Regions from separate parts of the Homo sapiens genome. Here regions 1 and 2 are each linked to region 3. Evidence: promoter capture Hi-C in human tissues and cell types (Jung and others, 2019). All regions are on one chromosome and are shown on one strand. Each heading gives the region's core, a stretch centred on a gene start or on the middle of the fragment in contact. The rest is flanking DNA. Distances are from core to core; before and after follow the strand shown.

What was found. Contacts are between HindIII fragments. The study calls those that stand out against the background at their distance.
Region 1: a contact is called between a fragment that was not itself captured here and the fragment with the promoter of RNF6 in region 3, in 3 of the 25 tissues and cell types used here (H1 embryonic stem cells, aorta and mesendoderm cells).
Region 2: a fragment that was not itself captured here is called in contact with the fragment with the promoter of RNF6 in region 3 in 2 of the 25 tissues and cell types used here (dorsolateral prefrontal cortex and liver).

Annotation. Positions count from the first base shown.
Region 1 is chr13:26,413,220-26,415,919 of GRCh38, forward strand. No RefSeq gene overlaps it. Among named protein-coding and RNA genes, the nearest start is that of WASF3, 140 kb to the right of the region's middle. The HindIII fragment of the contact is 4,213 bases long and covers 1-2,700 here.
Region 2 is chr13:26,366,723-26,369,422 of GRCh38, forward strand. The region is part of intron 4 of CDK8 (cyclin dependent kinase 8); the gene reads left to right. Among named protein-coding and RNA genes, the nearest start is that of CDK8, 110 kb to the left of the region's middle. The HindIII fragment of the contact is 5,412 bases long and covers 1-2,700 here.
Region 3 is chr13:26,220,908-26,223,607 of GRCh38, forward strand. It overlaps RNF6 (ring finger protein 6), which reads right to left and starts at 1,407. Exons shown (of 5, transcript NM_005977.4): 1 at 1,096-1,407; 2 at 341-423. RefSeq lists enhancers at 179-1,060, 1,061-1,942, 1,088-1,467 and a silencer at 588-637. The HindIII fragment of the contact is 8,375 bases long and covers 1-2,700 here.

The sequences.
Region 1 (2,700 bases), core at 27-2,526, 190 kb after region 3:
ATCAAAAACATGTTTACATAGGAAGGACAATAGTACAGCCTCTCTTTTACCCCAAGGCTATATTAACTCTCCTGCTCTTTGTTATAATATAGTCTGCAGGGTAGTGCTGCTGGAAAGATGGCAGAATTGGAAGCTATCAGGAATCTATCTGTCCACCTGGACAACAATTGTACTGGCAGAAACAGTCTCAAGTAACCATTTTGGAACTCAGTTTATTTGAATACTTGAAACTTCCAGGGACCAGCTTAGCTGGTAAATTTCAGTTGATATCAGCTATCAGTGTGGTGGCAGGCAGCTGGGGAATGGCAGCCCATATCTCTGGCACATCTTGCTGGAGCCATGACAGGCAATAATGACCTTGTCCTTCAAATAGTGGGGTTCCGTGTTCTCACGGGATTGCTGTTTGATCACTGATTAGTGAGTAAAGAGTTTGGATGTCATTGTATGAATTCCTCCCAGCTGAAGCAGCTTCCAGGAGATTTAAAGGAACTATACCTGTTTGTTTGTTTGTCTGTCTGTCTTTGGACATTCAAAAACAAGCATGTATATGGGGAAATTTAGAATGCCACTTTGCATGCCTAGGGAAAGACACAGGCTCAGAAAAGACATGAGAAGACATTAAGCTTTCACCTCAAGCTGATCCCTGGCACAAATACACCATACAACAATCAAAAGACAGCAAACACTGGGTAAGAGGGAGAATCTGTTTTCCAGAGTTTCCACGTCATAAGATTCGAACATCCAGTTTTCAGAATGAACAAACAAAAAGGCATACAAAGAAATAGAAAACTATGGCCCATTCAAGGGAACAAAATAAGTTGACACAAAATGTACATGAAGCTCAGACATTAGACTTACTAGACAAAGACTTTAAAACAACTGTCTTTTAGCTGGGCATGGTGGTGCACACCTGTAGTCCCAGCTACTTGGGAGGCTGAGGTAGGAGAATCACTTGAACCCAGGAGACGGAGGTTGCAGTGAGCTGAGATCACGACACTGCACTTCAGCCTGGCACAGAGAGAGATTCCGTCTCAAACAAAAACAAAAACAAAAACAAAAACAAAACGAAAAAAAATGTCTTAAGGATTCAAAGAACTCAAGGAAGACATAGACAAAGATATGCAGAAATGATATATGAACAAAATAAGAGTATCAATAGAAATTTTAAAAGAGAAGCAAAAAGAAATCTTGAAGCTGAAAAGTATGATAATTGAAAGAAAATATGTACTAGAAAGTTTCAAAAACGGATTTGAGCAAGCAGAAGAATCAGTGAACTTAAAAGTTAAATTTTTATAAACTTAATTAGATTGTTACAACTCTAAGATGTTAAATGTAATTCCCATGATGACCACAAAGAAAATAGCTATAGAGTATACACAAAAGGAAATTAGAGGGGAATAAAAGTTTCACTCCAAGAAATCATTTTTTTACTAAACACCTAAGAAGGCAATATTACAGGAAATGAGGTAGCTAAAAGTCATAAGGTATGTAGAAAACAAATAGCAAAATATCAGAAGGAAGTCCTCCTTATATTACTTTAAACACAAATGGATTCAATTCTCCAATCAAAAAACAAGGATTGGCAGACTGGATTTTTAAAATATAATCCAACTATATGTTGTCTATGACACTAACTTTAGACTCAGTGACACAAATAGGTTAAAAGTAAAACGATGGAAAAGGACAGTAATGCAAATAGCCATCAAAAGAGAGCTGGAGTAGCTATACTAATATCTGATAAAATAGACTTTACATTTTAAAAAATTATAAGAGAAAAATATATACATTACATATTAATAAACATTGATACTGCAAGATACATAGCAGTTATAAACATTTACACATCTAATAACAGACCTTCAAAACATCCTCTGTGCTCCATTGATTCATGCCTCCTTACCCTAAGGGTGGCTCAAAATAAAACTATAAATGTAATACATCAGATTAATATAACAAAAGGGAAAAACCACATGATCAAGTCAATTGATGCAGAAAAGGCATTTGACAAAATCCTATACCCTTCCATAATTAAAAAAAAAAAACAACTCTCAGAAAACTAGTATTATAGGGAAAATTCCTCAACATGATAAAATACCTAAACATGATAAAAACACATCCAATATTGTACTCAAGGGTGAAAGACTGAAAGCTTTCCCTTAAAATCAGAACAAGACAAGGGTGCCTGCTTTCACCACTTCTACTCAACATTGTGCTAGAAGTTCTAGTCAGAGTTAATAGATAAGAAAAAGAAATTTTAAAAATTGAAAAGGATGAGAGGAAACTACCTCTAATCACAAATGACATGATATTGTATATAGAAAATTCTAAAAAATCCGCAAGAAATCTATTAGGGTGAATAAACAAATGCAGCAAGGTCTTGTGGCCTCACAAAGTCAACACACAAAAATCAGTTGTATTTCTGTACACCAGCAGTGAAAAATCCAAAAAAAAGTTAGGAAAGCAAGTTGAATCTCATCAGCATCTAAAAGAATTAAATGGGGCAAGGTGCGGTGGCTCATGCCTATAATCCCAACACTTTGGGAGGCTGAGGCAGGCGGATCACCTGAGGCCAGGAGTTTGAGACTAGCCTGGCCAACATGGTGAAACCCCATCTCTACTAAAAATACAAAAGTTAGCTGGGTATGGTGGTGCGCACCTGTAGTCCCAGCTACTTGGGTGGCTGAGGCATAAGAATTGCTT
Region 2 (2,700 bases), core at 61-2,560, 150 kb after region 3:
ACAGACAGGCTTGTAATTCAGGTCAGTGTAGTTTAAGATGCCTATTTAATAAAAACATAGAAGTTGGGAAGATAGATTGCTAATTTTTAAAAATTCATTTAACATCTGTTTATGTAAACATCTTGAACCATTTGAAATAAGATCATTTTTTGTTTTCCCTAATTTCACAGACTAATAGGCCTTAAAGTTGGAAGGCATCTTAGCAGCAACAGACTATTCCAGTCTCTTAGCTGCCATAGTAATTCTTGGTAATATGCGGGGCAGACAACCCTGCTGACACTGGTCGAACATTTCCATCATGGCTAACTTTCTGTCTTATTAGAGTAAACTTGTTGTTACACAGCTATAATCCTTGAAGGTAGAGTCAGAAATTTGGAATTCCTAATACTCATCCTTTGGGCCCTCTCTTCCTTGATTGGTCTTCTCTTTTTTCCCCCCTTCTGGTTAACACTAGATGGTAAAATCAAATGTCTGAAAAACAAACAAACAAAAAACAAAAACAAATGTCTGAACCTTGATGCTGAAGAGGGGCTAAGGGAGATCCAAAAATAAAAGGCAGAGCAAAATAAAGAACAACAAAAGGAGAAATTAAGAAGAAAAATAAGAAAGGGTTGCACATGGTAGGAAGCGATAGAAAATCTTGGGTTATCTATCCTTGAATAATTTTTTTTTTTTAATCAGCATGGGCCAAAGAGGAAAAATTAAGCCCCTGTTATAGTGGACCTGAGATTTGTTTGAATCTTTGTTCTACCACTTAATTGTGTTACCATGGGAAGCATTAACCTGTCTGTCACTTTTCTCAGCTATAAAATGGGGCCAGACCTATTTGTTTTTTCCTTTGGGTAGAGATTGATGTGAAGACTGGCACATAATAAATGTTCATTAAGTACATTTCACTTTTCAAGTTGCCCTGTGAATATTAAGTACATGAGGATTAAGAGCTTTATCCGTTTTGTTTACTGCTATATCATCACTATCCAGAATGTTACACGGTGCATATTGGATGCCTATAAATAGCTTACTGAATGAATAAGTAGATTTTTTTGTTAGCTCTTCCTTCAAAACATCTCAGATCCAGCTATAGTGAGACCTTATTGGAATTCAAATTCGAATAAAGCACAATTGGCAATTGGTCCTTATCATCTGCCTGGTATCTTTTTCTCAAAGAAGAGTCAACTGTAGTGCTTATTTTCAAGGAGAGGAATCCATGAAAGGAAGGGCAGATTTGGCAGGGATTCTGGACTTATTAGCCCAGTGTCCCTGGATCAATCCAATAAATCATTTGCCATCTTACAAGGAGATTTCAGAATTTTCTGCTGCTGGGAAATGGATTTGGATTGCCCAGATGGTCATTGGGATTGCTAGTTGTAGAGGTTCACCTTGTCCATTTCATTAATATCTGTTTACCCTACCCCTAGCTAGACCCCACATTTTACACAGTCGAATTTTTCGGACTCCAATAATTGCCTCATGGTCTTGCTGCTCACCGTTTCTGTCACCACTACTCTAATTCAGGCCACTTGGATTACTGCAGAAACTCCCCAGTGATCTTCCTCTCTTGTTGTCTTGTGTTTGTTTGATCTAATAACTACAAACAAAATGATCTCTCTAAAAACCAAATCACATCGTGTCATTCCCCTATTTAAAATTCCTCAATATCTTCCCACCTGGGAGACTGATATATTCAAAATCTTTCCTAAACACATTGTACAGTATAATGTCTTTTTACCGTGGTGAAAGCTGCACCATTATTTTATGTACCACTAAGAAAGAAAACATGCTGCCAATTTACTATCACACCACGGAGGCTGAGACACATCTTGCTTTCAGAAATTCTAAGATTTAAAAAGAAAAGTAAAAATTGGAATCCATGAAATGCATTTTCTTCTTGTCATATAGTAATGGTTAGGACTTATTCACTAATACAGTGGCAAATATAATAGAAGTGACTTATTTCTGTCTTTAAGGAGAATTCTTAAGTTTCACTATTAGATATGATATTTACTTTGGGGTTTTAGTTAAAGGTAAAAGATGTTCCCTTCTGTGCCTGGTTAAGTTGTTTGTTTCTAAATCAATAATATTGCTTTTTCTGCGTCTTCTGGGATGATCATATGGTTATTTCCTTTAATCCATTAATGTGGTAAATTACATTTATATTGTTTTCTTTTGTTTTTAATGTTGAACCCTCCTTGCAGTGGAACCAACACACTGTCATGATGTTTTTTTTTCATTCACTAGTAGATTCCGCTTGCTAATACTTTGTTTTGTCTATTTTCACAAGTAAGTTTGGTCAGTAATCTTCTGTTCGTATATTACCTTTATCCTGTTTTGTTATCATGATTTTATTAGCCTCAGAAGACGCTTTTAGTCTCTGGAATAGTTTGTATAATATAGGAATTATTTGTTCCTTGAAAGTTAGTAAAAGTCAGCCAGGGGCGGCAGCTCATGGCTGTAATCCCAGCACTTTGGGAGGCTGAGGTGGGAGGATTGCTTGGAAGGATTGCTTGAGCCCAGGAGTTCAAGACCAGCCTGGACAGCATGGTGAAATGCCATCTCTACAAAAAAAAAAATGCAGAAATTCGCCAGGTGTGGTGATGCATGCCTGTGGTCTCAGCTACTCAGGAGGCTGAAGTGGGAGGATCGTTGATCCCAGGAGGCTGAAGTTGTGGTGAGCCAAGATCGCACCACTGCACTCCAGCC
Region 3 (2,700 bases), core at 157-2,656:
AACTATTCAATTTCACCTGTAACACTAAATTACAAATTCAAGGATTTTTTTCACTGTGGTTATTTTATTATGTCATTTTGAACAAATGACCTAGTAACATTATCCACTCAAATATGAATTAACACTACTAAAAACTCAAGATCTCTATCTTCAGATTAAGACCATAATTAGCAAAGAGCATATTTCGTAGGTACAGCAATAATAGGATTTTTGTAATAAATAATTTTACAAGTTGAAGCCTATCATAAAATCAAGTTACCCTAATATTATTTAAAACTTGAGCTTCTCCTTAAAGGTAATTTTCTTATACAGTTAATCACAATGAAAACAAAGCGAATACCTTATTTTCCTTTCAACACGCTTTTAACATATGCCATGGTATCCATCCTTCAATTGTTTGTGCCTTTTTTGAGAGCTGCCCATCTGAAGCAATAAAAGAGAGTTGAATAATTCAATAAACTGTTTCTTTAAAGGCCAGGAACGGGTGGTAGTCTCCCCACTCTGCTGCAAAGCCAAAGCAAATTCTCCAGTGGATTTTGTTAGACACATCTAGAAAATTAGATCCCCATACAATTAGGTCACGAAAACCTCCCGCAAGGCCCCTACCTTCCGCAACAAACTTAGGCCTTTCGTCCTACACTGTCACTGTTCCTGGGTTTACGCCTCCTCTCTCAAAGGCCTTCCTTCCTATCCCGTTCCCATTCGGATGTTACCAGGGTTAGGCGTCTCCGGCTTACTTCTAAACCTTGACTTTCTTGCCACCCCCGCCCTCCGTCCCGCTACTGGTTTCTTTCCCGGCCGTTGCGACGGAAGCTCGCGCCGGGGGACGATCCCCACTACGATAAATAAAGTGGGCTCAAGAGGCCCAACCAACCTCTTCCCAACCGAGCCTCAAGTAACGCTTCCCTTAGAGACCTAGATTCTCACAAGGAAGCAGGTGATAGACGGTGCATCCCAACCAATCACCAGCCAGCGGAGCGCAATAAGAAGGCAGTTAACCAATCGGAGAAGAGATGGGTGGCTCGAAGGATGGCCTGCTTTCCCCGGCGTCTCCAGGAAGTAGTGGTGGGACCCAGATCTTTCCCTCGAGCCCACCTCTCCAGGTCTTGGGCCTTCGCCCTCCTGTCCGGAGAACGTGTGCTGTGGGCGGCCGTTCTCTCGGGTGCTGGAGGCTGTGGTTGGGAGGCGGGATAGGCTTGCCGCCGCGCCTCCGGAGCCCGCTGTGCCCTCGAATTGGCCACTGAGGAGAGAAGCCGGAAGCCCGTGCTGCAGCGTGGGGTCGTCCAGCTGGAGGGGATACTCGGGAGGAAGAACGGCAGGCCCCAGCCCTTCTTTCCCGACAGCCACGCCGCCCACTTGGCGGCGGGGAGTCGCTCCGCAGCCGGCCCGGAGCTCGCCCGTGCAACTGAAAACTGCGTCCGTCGGGAGCTAGGGTGCCTGGCGTCCCGCGTTCCGCCCTCTTGCGCCGCCCTTACAGTGCCTCCTCCTCGAGGCCAAATGCCCGGCCGCTCAGCGCTCGTGGCAGCCGCGTAGTTGCAGAGACACGGTCTGCTTTCCAGGCTTGGGAAGTCCCAGCACTTAACTCTGCGCGTCGGTGTCGCTCGTTTGCCAGCCAGACTATAAAGTGCACCCAACGGTGTATGCGTCTCTTTACTTCCGGGTGTAACGTACTACCCAGCCAGGCCCTTTCCCTTGCTGTGCTTTGGAACCTGGAAATTACAAACCCTAATAAATTCTGAAGTCTGTCTGTCTGTCTATCTCTATTTGAGACAAGGTCTCATCCTGTCGCCCAGGCTAGAGCGATCGTAGCTCACTGCAGCCTCCAGCGATCCTCCCTCCTCATCCCAGTAGCTGGAACTACAGGCGCTTGCCATTAATTTCACATTTTTTCTTTTGTAGAGACGGGGGTCTCGCTATGTTGCCCAGGCTGGTTTCGTACTCGGCCTCAAGCAATCCTCTCACCTCAGCAAAATGGGATTACAGGCATGAGGCACCGCACCCCACTATATTTTGTGTTTTTTCACCTTCCCGCTAGGAAAGCAGTTTGAAACTCCCAACATTCCTCCCTCTGATTTTATTTCTGAGATGTGAGGCTTACTAAACTTACCTCACCGTTAGTTAAGATGCTGAGTAGGTCTCTGTCTAACCTGGTATAGTCCCCTTTCCTGACATCCCTACCATCTGATGACTTCATCACTGGAGAGTGCTCACAATGCCGTTACTTGTTATTCTTCCGTTTGTTCTTTCATTTCTGCATTAACTTTTGAGGAACTACCATATCCCCATTATTATGCTGGGCACCTGGATAACAAGCTACATGCAGTCCTTAGCATCAATGAGCTACCAGTGTAGTAAGGATCTATGGACAAGTGTTTAAAATAAGCATATGGATATGGATACTAAAATGGAAATATATAAAACAGCCTAGAAAGCCCTTCCAGATCTTTCTTCTGCTTACATTTACAGGCTGTTGTCTTGGCACTCCGAAACTGCTTGAAGTTCCGCCACAAGATATGGGAACTCCTAAGCAACCCCCAACTCCACTTTTACCTAATTTCCTCTGTCTCCCAAAACTCAGCTCAGTTCTCATCTTTAAGGAATTTTTCCTGATACCTCTGAAATAACACCCTTACCTCACCCTCCAGCCCGATATTTACACATAAAACTAAGCAAATGTCCCTTTTGGGGGCTCCCATACTC